Regions from separate parts of the Homo sapiens genome. Here region 1 is linked to region 2. The links are contacts of gene promoters, found by promoter capture Hi-C in human tissues and cell types (Jung and others, 2019). All regions are on one chromosome and are shown on one strand. The core of a region is centred on a gene start or on the middle of the fragment in contact, and the rest is flanking DNA. Distances in the headings are between cores, read along the strand shown.

Region 1 (6,362 bases), core at 1,087-3,586, 55 kb before region 2:
AAAACAGCTGTAGAAAGCTTTGCAGGTCATGAACAGCACAGCTGGCCACTGGGGCTGGCGTGGGGCTAGGACCTGGGTGCATAGGGAACAGGGATGAGACACAGGCTCTTCATGCCTGCACACATATACAGATACACACAGATGGAAATTACTGAGCCATCTAAATACAACACCTATTCAAAAAATCAAACAGAAAAAGGAAATGTAATGGGGCTGAAGGATGAGGGTAGGTGGGGTGGCTGCTCAGGAGGACTGTGGAGGCCACATCGCCTAACCTTCGAGGCCTCTCTTAGCAGCTGGAGTGCATCCCGGGGACTTGGGAGCTCTGGAAAGAGGAGCAGGAAAGGGCCATGGCCGGAGGAGGCCTGAAAAAGATCATCTCTGCCACAGAGAAGAAGCTGGCTCGGATGCTGCTGGCCCCTATGGAGACAGGGAGACCCGGGGAGACAACTGTATTCATTCAAGGAGGAATGGGTGGTGATGCAAACTTGGGTGGAGGCCACAGGGTGCAGAAGACAGGACACAGCAGAGAGAGATGTAGGACATGGAAGGGACAGAAAGGAGTGACCACAGGACATAAAGGGGCAAGGAAAGTGGAAGCATGATAACATCTGCTGGGCATCCGGCTGAGGGGTTGGGTGCCTAGGGTGCCCTTCCCTAAGGGAGAACCCCAGGAGCAGATTCAGAGAAAACCGCCCAGCTCACTCCAGCAAGAATCAGAAAAGGACCGGTTAAAGGAGAGGGTAGGAAGGTCACCAAGCTCCAAGGGCCCTCATGAATCCGGCTTGGAGGCCACAGGGCCCAGGGCAAGGACAAACCACAGGCACAGGACAGCTCCGGTCAAGATCTTCTGGCTACTGCAGGAGGCAGAAACCACACCCTGCACCCTGCACTGCTGAGGCTGGCGCTGGAGTCCAGAAGCTTCTACACCAGAAGCTTCGGTCCCCCATCCCTGCTCAAAAAATTAAAACAAAAACAATAACAAATCGGTGTCATGCACCCTCTGCTTCCTGGTGCTGTTCGGGACCCTGAGTCTTTCACGGGAGCACCTGATGGGGAAAGCCTGGACCCGTGTCGGTGTCCCTCCTGCAAGGAGTGCTGGGAAAATGAACTTTCCAGCTTCCTCCTTGCGAAGGCAGAACATTCCCCATGTGTACTGGTGGCATTTAAAAACTGCAGGGCAGCCAGAGAACATGGACTGTGTTCCACCGGGAGAGTTCCTGGCGGGATGTCCCGGTGCAGAAGCCCGTCCCAAGGTGGGTATTTGAGCTGAGGAACTGAGAAGCCGGTTTCTGCCTAGAGTTAGAGATCCGAGAGGCATCAGCACATGGAAGGGAGGGAATCTACGATGCCTCGAGGGTGGGAGATCAGATGAACCAGGAGAGGCAGGGCCCGGGAGGAACCCCGGGGAGCAGCCTCCTTTAAAGCCTGGGGGAAGTAGCTTCAGAGAAGGTGGGGTAGGTTGGGTGGGGGTTGCTGGAAAAATATAATTAAGAAACAAATTTCTGCTCAGCCCAGAAACCCCCCTCACATCCATAGAAGTAAAAGAAACTTGTCTTATGATTGAGTAAGCATTAAGCCAAAATGTGATGCAATCTGCTAAGAGATGACAAAGACAGAAAGAAATCCCACCTTTGTATCCAGCCAAGCAGGTGCAACCCGTTACACACATGGTCTCCAGATAGATGGTGACTAGTTCCCAGTTGAGAGGACTCAACGGCACCATTTGTCACACGTAGTTCATCCTAAATTCACCCAGTAACTGTGTTGATTCTCTGTGTGGTTAATTGGCTTTATCCACAGGAAAAAGAAACCTCTCATCTATGACAGGAGGTAGTTTTGCAACTGGGAGTGAGATGCCCCCAGAACTGAGGTTCCTTCCTTCTCACAGAAACTGGGAGACAGGGGTGCTTTCTGCCCGGATGCCTGCCTTTCAAAGAGAGGTCTCCTATGGCCTTGAGGAGGAGAATTCTGGGTTGTGAGGCAGGCAAGATACTTATGTATGCTTTAGAAAGCTTTGCATACATCTTCAAGGGATAGAGAAAGAGTTTTCAATTACACCTCTTCTAAAAAAAATGATCTCAAAGTCCAGCCTAGGCAACACAGCAAGATCCTATCTCCACACACACAACAATAATAATAAATTTGCTGGACATGGTGGGGTGTGCGTGTAGTCCCAGCTACTCAGGAGGCTAAGGAGGGAGGATCACCTGAGCCCAGGATGTTAAGGCTGCAGTAAGCTTAGATGGCAGCACTGCACTCCAGCCTGGGTGACAGAGTGAGACTCTGTCAATGAATGAATGAATGAATAAATGAATGAATAGAAAATGCTCTGAGTGAAAAGAGGAGAGTCTCTTTATCTTTTTGCAACAGGCTAAACAAAGTTTTTAAAAATGTATATTTGCCTCACAGAGATTATTCCAGGAAAAGAAGTGGCCCTCAGTGTCAAAGGATGCAAAACTAACCTCTGAGTTCCTGGCAGGTTTAGCAATAAAGGAGGATGTTGCTGATCTCAGTACAAGCAATGTTAGAGAAAGGGGAAGATGGAAGTGGACAAGGACGAGTGAGTGGAAGGTGACAAATGGAAGCAAAGAAACGTATCCAGACCATTGAAGATGCTTGAGCGAGAAGAAAGAGGCGGTGGAGGGAATGGAAGCCCGAGGAAGTCATATGTTGCAATAAGGGGCCTCAGAGCACGTGTAGAGTGTGGAGCAGAGCCCTTGCAGAGGGGCTGTGGAAGGCTGGCAGGGTGCAGGTGGCCCCACTCTCCGTCACCCTGAGGAGTGTGTGGTCAGAGTTAAAGCTCAGTCTGTTTCTGGGATCAGGTAAGAGGTGAGCGTCCGGAGAAGACAGGCGGATCTTCAGATCCTGCAGACCTCCACCGTGCCCTCTGTCCCTCTCGACTGCTTTTTCTCCATCTCCATTGTCTGGCTCACATTGGTGTCACTTTTTCATTTCTCCCTGCCCGTCTTTTCTCTTTTCTCCTCTCTTTTTCTTAACCCTTGTACCTTTGGAAGTCCCACTAACAGAATTTAAACAGCTTTTCAAGTTGGTTTTTTGTTCCCAGAAATTGATTTTAGACTCTCCATGAATAATGTGGAAATCAAATGAGTATAAGCTGGTTCATCTCTCTGCAAATAAACAAATAAAATCTACATTCCAATGTTTCTTCTTCCAGAGTAGCCCGCACTTGATTTTTTTTTTAATTACTGTCACTTGCAATAGATTTTTAATTCCTGTAACCTGGCTACACAAATACCATGGGGCAAAAGCCTTACTTCCTGTGAGAGGAAACCAGGCTTGACTAGCCTCATGCTGGCTTTGAAGAAGTAAAATCAGGGGTTGATGAATTTGCATAGGGTAAATATCAAAGGTCAAAAGTAAACAATAGGTGGTAGAGGGAATACCCCAAATTATAAAAGAACAAACTGTTTAAGCCACAACAGAATTATCGTAGAAATAAACCACGGTCCTTCCTGCTAAAATATTCCACTTAGAATTGTAAAATATTCTTCTCAATAACTCCTGGAAGAGCCTACTCATAAATTAATGAGGCTGGGAGCAGTGGCTCACACCTCTAATTCCAGCACTTTGGGAGGCCTAGACGGGCAGATCGCTTGAGGTTAGGAGTTTGAGACCAGCCTGGCCAATATGGTGAAACCCCGTCTCTACTAAAAATACAAAAATTACCCAGGCATCGTGGCAGGCACCTGTAATCCCAGCTACTTGGGAGGCTGAGGCAGGAGAATCGCTTGAACCCAGGAGGTGGAGGTTGCAGTGAGCCAAGATGGCACCACTGCACTCCATCCTGGATGACAGAGTGAAACTCCATCTCAACCAAAAAAAAAAAAAAAAAGAAATTAATGAATGTAAGAGCATCTATGTTCCAAATGCAGTGTATTATTTTATGCAGGCTTTCACAAGCTCCAAAAGATTCACCGTGCAGAACTGGACGTTCTAGAGAAAGACCACGCCTCCTCCTGCAGGTAACTCTTCATTCAGGAAGCAGCTCTTGGCTTATCCCTGGGCTTAGTGGAATTGGAATACCTGACCATAGGACACCAAGGGCTTTAGGACCTGAGTGGCACATCGTGTCCTGGTGACATCTGAGTTACCTGGGGCGTGCACAGCAGCCTCCAGCATCCCAGGGAGAGCTGTGTATGGGGTCAGGCTCAAGCAGGTCCCAGGGCACCAGTGACCCAATGGGTGAATCAGACTCCCGTGGCACCTGCTCCTTCTGTATCTCCCTCTGCCATATATATGAGCTCATGGGAAGCACTGTAACCTCTTACAGAGGAGGAAAGTTCATGGACTTCTAGCTTCTAGAACTGTGATACAATAAACTCCTGTTGCTTATCTACTCCTCTGCAGTATTTTGTCATGGCAGCCCTAGCAAACTACTACAGGGACTGTGGGGGTTAGGATGACACCAAGCATCAAATGCCACTCCCTGTTCCATTATTATGTAATGTCCCTCTTTGTCTTTTTTAACTGCTGTTGCTTTAAAGTTAGTTTTTTTGATATAAGAATAGTTACTCCTGCTCACTTTTGTGGCCATTTGCATGGGGTGTCTTTTTCTACCCTTTTACCTTAAGTTCATGTGACACTTTATGGTTAGGGGAGTCTCTTGAGGGCAGCAGATACTTGCTTGGTGAACTATTATCAATTCTGCAATTCTGTGTCTTTTAAGTGGAGCATTTAGGCCACTTACATTCAATGTTAGTATTGAGATGTGAGGTACTGTTCCATTCATCCTGCTATTTGTTGCCTGAATACCTTGGTTTTATTCATTTATTTATTGTATTTGTGTTTTATACGTCCTGTGAGATTCATGCTCAAAGAGGTTCTGTTTTGATGTGTATCCAGGACTTGCTTCAAGATTTGGAGCTCCTTTTAGCAGTTATTGTAGTGCTGGCTTGGTAGTGGCAAATTCTCTGAGCATTTGTTTGTCTGAAAAAGACTGTTATCTTTCCTTTATTTATGAACTTTAGTTTTGCTGGATACAAAATTCTTGGCTGATAATTTTTTTTTTTTTTTTCTGAGATGGAGTCTTGTTCCGTCACCCAGGCTGGAGTGCAGTGGTGCGATCTGGGCTCATTGCAACCTTCGCCTCCTGGATTCACGCCATTCTCCTGCCTCAGCCTCCCGAGTAGCTGGGACTACAGGCGCCTGCCACCAGGCCCGGCTAATTTTTTTTGTATTTTTAGTAGAGACAGGGTTTCACCATGTTAGCCAGGATGGTCTTGATCTCCTGACCTTGTGATCCACCCGTCTTGGCCTCCCAAAGTGCTGGGACTACAAGTGTGAGCCACCGTGCCTGGCCTGATAATTTTTTTTTAAGGAGGCTGCAGGTGGGTATGCATGCTCATTTGAGGTGTTCTTCCCTTATTGAAGATTACTAAAATCACATGTGTTGAAAAGCATTTGGTATTATTTACTTAATTGATGAGTACCCATTTATTTTTACATTAATTTGATACCATGTATAAACAATATATAAACATAGGTATGGACATATACATATGTGATATGTGATACAGCATAGAACATATACTTGTGCACATAAAGATAGAGGGAGACAGAAATACTTCAGATTTTTGATTTTAAAACTTTATGCATGAACACATAAAACTCACTGTTAAAAAAAATAGCTGGATTTAAGTTGTGCTTTTGTAAATAGAAAAAGTTAACATTTATCTGAGGAAGCCCTTGCTGAGTTTTAGAGAAAGTAGGTAGTAAATTTACATCTCAAAGCACACACAAACACACACACACACACACACACACACACAGAGAGAAGGAGTTTGGGTGTGTTCAAGGAAGATTAAAAGTAGATGCCAAGGTAACACAAAAATGATAGAAATTTATAACAGGATTTTATAAGGAGACCAATTTTATTTCCATACATAGCTTTTATTTTGGTCTCTGTTTTCCAACTTTACTCCAGGAAACACACTACACAGGCTCCCTTCTTAAGTGCTGGTGGGCCACTGCACATGCAGACAGCCCACTTTAAGGGAAGAATCAGGGGAGAAGAGATGCAGACCCCAGAATTATGCCAACATACAAAAGCCTAAGTCAAAGGTCAAACCACACACTTGAAATCTCATCACCTGTTTGGCCCTGTTTTAAGTGTGCTTTACTTTCTTTAATTTCTGCTCTAAAGCTTTTAAATAAACTTTCACTCCTGCTCTAAAATTTGCCTAAGTCTCTTCTTCTGCCTTATGACACTTAGTTGAATTCTTTCTTCTGAAGAAGCAAGAATTGAGGCTGCTACAGACTTGTACAGATTTGCTGCCATTAATATAGTTTAGTGCCATTCTACATGATAGAATATATATATTCTTATATTTATATATATA
Region 2 (7,027 bases), core at 1-2,500:
TGTGTGTCCTACTGTCCTACTAGGTCAAGGTCAGCAGCATGACGCCCATTCCTTCAACACTTCTGACGTTGGCATTTTTCTGTTTGGAATCCTCTTCCCCAGGGGTCCGCATGGCCCCCTCCACAATGCCCTCAGGTCCTGCTTACATCAGGGCATCGTTAGACTTCTTTCCTGATGCCTGCTTCAGAGACCCTGGGTCTTCCCTTTCTGACCTTTCCCTGCTCTGCTCCCTCCAGGGTTCTTGTCAACACCTGACCTCACATTCTAGATCTCTTTGCATGTCTGTCTTCCCCCCCATGACAGCGTGAGCTCCGTGAAGACAGGGACTTTTGTGATCTTGGTTGCACCCCAGTGCCTGGAACAGGCTGCAGACTCCTGTAGATGTGAGAGTTCTCAGGGCCCTCCATGCCCTGGGTGTTTTTTTTCCCCCAATTGTTGAGGTTTCTTGCTGAGGACAGTGTTTCCTGCCCTGTTTATATTTTTATTTGAGGTGTCATCTGCTATAGTTATTATTATCATTTTTCAAAATATGGTGGCCCCTGATGATTAATCAGGAAAACAGAACACTTAAGATTTTCCTACCTCTTACCAATTCCGGTCCAATACGACTTTCCTGTTTTGACCCCTGTCCCTCTCTGGTGTATTTTCCCCTATCCAGGCTCCAACAGAGCCTTCTTTCCTTTTTTTCTTTTTTCTTTTTTTTTTTTTGAGATGGAGTCTTGTACTGTCGCCCAGGCTGGCATGCGGTGGTGCTATCTCAGCTATCTGCAACTTCTGCCTCCCGGGTTCACGTGATTCTCCTGCCTCAGCCTCCCGAGTAGCTAGGATTATAGGAGCACACCACCATACCTGGTTAAATTTTTGTATTTTCAGTACAGACAGGGCTTCACTGTGTTGGCCAGACTGATCTTGAACTTCTGATCTCATGATCCACCCACCTCAGACTCCCAAAGTGCTGGCTTCTTTCATTTTTTAGAACCCCATCCTCTCCAGGAGACCCCATCCAGTCACTCTGCTTCCTCCTCCTGTCCTCTCCCAGGAAGTTCTCTCCTCACCTGTGAGCAGGAGCCCCTTCCATTTGATGCGCTGTGTGCAGGGAGGGGCTGAGAGGGTTCCCATGGTCTCTGCTGCTTGTGTGTTCTCCTCTGTGGAGATAAGCCTAGGATCCAGAAACTCTCTGAGCACGGCTGTCAGCTGTGCTGTCCTTCCTCTTTCTGTGCTGAGCCTCTTCCCAGGGCAGGAGCAATTCTCAAGCTCATGGGCAGGGTCAGGCCCAGGACACCTCTCTGTCCCCTCCTCTCTAAGTCCTGCCTCCTTGTCCCTCCTTCTGTTTCTCCTTTTGTCTGTGTTTCAGGTCCCTGGGAATTGTGGCGGCCTCTGCCTTTTTCAGCAGTGATTCTTTCACCAAACCTCAAGACACACTTTGTGCAGACACACAGACACACACACACACACACACACACACACACACAGAAGAGATACACACAGACCCACACAGTCAGACACATACCCTGCAGGTTGGGCAAGAACAGTCCTGGGCCTCAGCCTCCTGGTGTCCCCATGGCTCTGGGTCGGGGTGCAAATTAACGCCCTTTGGCCTCTTTCATCCCCATCAGGCTCTCCCCTTCAGTGCAGGAGGCTGGAGCTGTACCAGGTCCCTGTCAGAATGATGCCCCATTGTGCTGTGGGTGAGCTGTGTGTTGCCTGGTGAGAGGGACCCTTCCTTTCTCTAATCATGTCTAGCTTGGCTGCAGCTTCCAAGGATGGACATTCAGGACCTGGGTGTCCCAGAGGAAACTGTCCTTTCTGGCGGTGTGCAGGGTGAATCTCTCATGCCTCTTGGGAGGAGAGGCCTGTGCTGGTTGCTCAGTGGGGGCTGTGAGTCCCATAGTCAAAGGGACAGTTCTCTGTCAGTCTATGGCTCCCTGGGGTCTGGCGGCTGAGCTGGAGCTCATAGTTTCTCATGTTCTTCCTGACCATCTTTGATGTCCTCTCTTCTCTGCCCAGCTGACTGTCCTGTGGTCACCACACCTTCCCTGTGGTGGTGCAGGAGGAAGTGGGGAGTTACCCAGGAACCCTGCGGGACATGGCTCATTGAGATGCGGGAGGGGGAGCCTGGGACAGAGCAGGGGTTCAGAGCTGGAGAGATTCATCCCAACTTACTCCGTGGCCATGATGGGCTCAGCCCTCCATATGCTGACATACCCAGGGGTCTGTCCTGATGGTTTTGACCTGGCCAAGCTGCTGTGTGTAGAGGAGGAACAGGCAGTGGCCAGAGAGCCTGTCTGGAGGGACATTGCTCTCACCTGAGAGGGCGGGTGGGGGTGAGTTGTGTTCTGAGATCAAAGAGCAATAACATTCCCCTTCTTCCCGCAAGCACACAGGAGAGGTCTGTCTTCCCAAGGGACAGCTGGTGTTAGGTGGCCACATCCCGGATGGTGCCTGTGTGTGACCATCACACGCGCTCTGAGCCCCCAGGGTGCAGCGGGCAGGCAGGTCACAGGGTGCCTGGCTGATTCCCGGGGAGGCTGTGGGCCCTCAGGCAGCCGCTGTTCTGTGTCAGCGCTAGGCTTGGCCTGGGATGCCCCAGAGAACAGGACAGATGGAGCAGGGGTGGGCATTTAGGGAGCAGTGCCAGAAAGAGTTGATGAGGATGGAGGGAGGTCACGAGGGGAAAGCACCCGGTGTGGCATCGCGTGCACCAGCGCTGCCCTGGGAGATGCCTTTAGCTGGGCCCAGGGAAGGAGCAGGTGTGTGGGGAGGAGCTACCTGCAGGGGGAGTGGTGTTAGGTTGGCGGCCGCCAGGTCAGGGAGGAGCTGACAGTGTCCGTGTGGGGAGCATGGAGGGCGCTGAGGACTTGGGCAGAAGTGACCCTGTAGAGGGTGGACACTGCTGGGCTGTGGGTTCCGCTGAGTGAGGTTGGCATCCCCTGGGAAGACTCCAGGCTGGGAGGGACTCTGTCCCCCTCTGGTGGACAGGGAGGGAAGTGTGAACGGCAGCAATTCCAGGCCAGGATGCATGTTTTATTCCACGTGGATCTGCACAGTTCACACGAGGTCACACCTGTGTTATGTTACAGCCCCATCACCTTCCAGCCCCGTGAGTCCCAGTCTCTGTGGCTCTATGTTCACTGTTCTCCCTCTTTCACAATCAGATGTCCCAAATGCAGATTTTTGTCACCTTCTGTGAGTTTGTGTTTGTGTGCAGTAGGCGGCACTGTGTATACCCTGGGGGCAGTGATGTCTGGGGCTGAGCACTGCAGTTGGGCTTGGGAGCAGCAGGGTGGGAAGATCAATGTCAGGGGGGCAGGGACAAGTCATTTTCATTTTCTCACTCCCAGGGACCAGAACCCAGGATTCTGACTCCAGGGCAGAGTACCACACCCTGCTGGTGTCCCTGGATGTCATGATGCTCATAGTGTCATGTTGCCTTGGCATTCATTTTTTAAGGTGTAAGTTTATTTGCCTCAAATCAGAGGCAGGGCTTGGTCACCATGGCAGTTTTCAATACTGTGTCTGGTTCAAGTGGCTCCAGTTGGTGTCCAGAGATCAAATCTTAGAGACATCTCTCCTGCTTGGTGTGCTGGGCTCCCGTCTCTCCAGCTGCTTTCTTTAAACTGATAATTCTGACATTCGCCCTCACATTAAAAGTGACCACCTCTCAGTCACAGCGTGAGCTCCTGTTCCCAGTGTTTGCTGCTTGCTTTGAACACATCCATTAAAGCTCCCTGCTGGAAACCTGTCAGATAACACCCTGGACTTAATAAAGCCATTGGCTTACCGGTCTCTTCTCTCCTCCCTCCCTGGGCTCACTGACCTCTGTGTCTGTGGTCTCCAGGTGTGCCAAGTGCTTCCCAGTGTCTGTAAGTAGTAAAAATACTTACACTTTCACGTTGTGGTTGTATTGCTGTGGCCTCACATGCCATCCAGGGCCTGACATTGAGGCTGCCTTATGGGACCTGTGCTGGCTGAGCCCCTGCTGGAGCTCTTGTTTTGGGGCCTCTGGTTCTCTTGGGGACAGGAGCTTCCAGCTAACTTGATTGAAAAACTGATGCATTTCATTGAAAACACTGGGTCAGATGATGTATTCATAGGCTTCAGCTCCTATAACAAACACCTTAGCCTGGGTGAATTAAATAATAGAAATCTATTTTTCACAGTTCTGTGAATAATGTGCTATTTTAACCACTTTAAAATGCACAATCAATGAAATTAACCGCATACACCGTGTTAAATTACCATCACCAGTATTTTTCCTAGAAAATTGTTATCATTTTAAACTGAAACTTTGTATCTTTTAAACAATAACTCCCTGTATGTTCCACCCTAGGCCTTGATCACCTCTACTCTGTCTCTATGAATTTGCCTATTCTTGATGTTTCATATAAATGGAATTATACAATTATGTTATTTTGTTTCTGACACATTTCACTTAGCATAATGTTTTCCAAGTCCATGCATGTTCCAGCGGGTGTCAGAGCTTCCTTCCTCTTTATGGCAGATTATCATTCTGTTTTATGTGTCACCATATTTGTTTATTCATGTGTTGATGAACACTTGGATTGTTTTCATATTTTATCTTTTCTGAATAATGCTGCAATGAACATTCCCATGCAAGTACCTTTTTGAGTCCGTGGATTTAATTCTTTGGGTATATACCTAGGAATGGATGTTATTTCAAATGAGAATTCTATAATTAGCTTTTTGAGGAACAGCAATACTCTTTCTCCTAGCTGCTGTACTTTTTTATATTCTCACCAGCCATGTATGAGGATTCCAAATTCTACATAATGCTGCTACTTGTTATTTAACATTTTAAAAGAACGGTAGCCAGTTTTGTAGGTTTGATGTGGTGTCTCATTGCAGCTTTGACTTTGTATTTTCCTAATGACTAATGATGTTTAGTATCTTTTCATGTCCTTCTTGACTATTTGTATATCTTCTTTGAAGAAATGTATATTTGAGTCTTTTGCCCATTTATAAATTTAATGGTTTCTCCTTTTGTTACTGAGTTGTAGCTAGTTCTTTATATTATCTGGACATGAAAACTGCCTATATGTGGTTGTCAAATATTTTCTCTCATTCTGTGTCTATTAATTATTGTCTTGATAATTTTCTTTGATGTACAAAAGGCTCACATCTTGATAAAGCCCAATTTATCTTGTTTTTCTTGTTTCTCATGCTTTTGTATCATATCTAAGAATCCATTGCACATTTGAGTTCATCAATATTTACCTCTATGTCTATTTTAAGATGTTTTATAGGTCTGATATTTAACTCACTGATGAATTTTTCAGAGAATTGTTTGATATGGTGGGAGGTAGAGTTATCTAAATTCACTGTTTTGCATGTGGTTATCTAGTTGTTTCTGCATTATCATTAGAAAGGAGAATTGTTCCTCCATTAAATTTTCTTGACACCCTCTTCAAAGAGTAATTGACCATAAATGTGAGGGTTTATTTCTAGACTCTCAATTCTATCCCATTTTTCATTATGTCCAGTCTTTTGCCAGCAGCTTGTTTTAATAATTGTACTCCTTTGTGAGATTGCAAATAAGAAAGTTCAAGTCTTACAATTTCTTTTGGCAGGATTGTTTTCACTATTCAGGGGTACTTTTTTGAAAGATGGGGAGGACAAAGTTTCACAATTGGGAAAGCCGTTTCTGTCTTCTTCAGGGGGAAATTTGGGAGAAGCTTTTAAGAAACTTTATCTAAGTAGGTAAACTGTCACCACTTTATTTGCTGAAGTGCTATGTTAAAGTGTGCATTGCCTCTTGTGGAAGAATTTTGGACCCTGGAAGCACTTGCCCACGTGGTGAGAGACAGTGAATTCCACGATGAGGGGCAGAGATGATGTTGTTTTGTGATACAGTGTTGTTGGGGGAGTTGTATACATCTCAACTTCTTTATGTCTCTGTAAAGTGGGCATAGGGAGCAGCCCGCAGGGTCGGTGGGTTTTTCTCCCCGTGTGCAGAGACGTGAGATTGTAGAAATAAAGACGCAAGACAGAGAGATAAAAGAAAAGACAGCTGGGCCCGGGGGACCACTACCACCAAGTCATGGAGACAGATAGTGGCCCTTAATGCCAGGCTGTGCTGATATTTATTGGATACAAGACAAAAGGGCAGGATAATTAGTGTGAGCCATCTCCAGTGATAGGTAAGGTCACGTGGGTCACGTGTCCACTGCACAGGGGGCCCTTCCCTGCCTGGCAGCTGAGGCAGAGAGAGGGAGGAGAAAGAGAGAGAGAGCTTACAGCATTATTTCTGCTTATTAGAGACTTTTAGTACTTTCACTAATTTGCTATTGCTAACTAAACAGCAGAGCCAGGTGTACAGCATGGAACATGAAGGCGGACTAGGAGCGTGACCACTGAAGCACAGCCTCACAGGGAGATGGTCAGGCCTCTGGATAACTGCGGGTGGACCTGACTAATGTCAGGCCCTCCACAAGAGGTGGAGGAGTAGAGTCTTCTCTAAACTCCCCTGGGGAAAGGGAGACTCCCTTTCCCGGTCTGCTAAGTAGCGAGTGTTTTTCCTTGACACTGAGGCTACCACTAGACCATGGTCCGCTTGGCAATGGGCATCTTTCCAGATGCTGGCATTATCGCTAGACCAAGGAGCCCTCTAGTGGCCTTCTGTGGGCATAACAGAAGGCTCGCACTCTTGTCTTCTGGTCACTTCTCACTCTTCCCTGCTTCCCTCTTCCAACCACTTCTGAGCTACAAATGAGAAGGAAGCGATCTGATTAAACAGGTGATGAGCAGAGTCACGTTCTGAGGGGATTTGCACTTTTAAAAGGAGATTAATGACCACATCTGACAATGTCACCCTGGAATCTTATGCAGAGTGACAGGGGAGTGGGGATGAGCTCCGTTCAGGTTCAGGAAGCGAGAGTTTGGATCTGAAGTACTTTTCAGATGCTGAAGTCATAGGAGCTTGCAGTTGCTTCCTGGGTGGAGCCATAAACAAACATCTCTTCTGCTGAGTGGGGTCTGAGAAGATAGAGGGAACGGTGACCCAGGAGCT

Evidence for each region. The method cuts DNA at HindIII sites, captures the fragments that hold promoters and counts their contacts. A contact is called where the count stands out against the background at its distance.
Region 1: a fragment that was not itself captured here is called in contact with the fragment with the promoter of PSG1 in region 2 in 2 of the 25 tissues and cell types used here (small bowel and stomach).

Annotation. Positions count from the first base shown.
Region 1 is chr19:42,822,520-42,828,881 of GRCh38, forward strand. PSG8-AS1 (PSG8 antisense RNA 1) reads left to right here. Exons shown (of 4, transcript NR_036584.1): 2 at 294-1,256; 3 at 2,413-2,825; 4 at 3,914-4,359. Among named protein-coding and RNA genes, the nearest start is that of PSG8-AS1, 3.8 kb to the left of the region's middle. The HindIII fragment of the contact is 3,734 bases long and covers 470-4,203 here.
Region 2 is chr19:42,878,463-42,885,489 of GRCh38, forward strand. It overlaps PSG1 (pregnancy specific beta-1-glycoprotein 1), which reads right to left and starts at 1,251. Exons shown (of 6, transcript NM_001184825.2): 1 at 1,056-1,251. The coding sequence starts at 1,119. The HindIII fragment of the contact is 8,814 bases long and covers 1-6,469 here.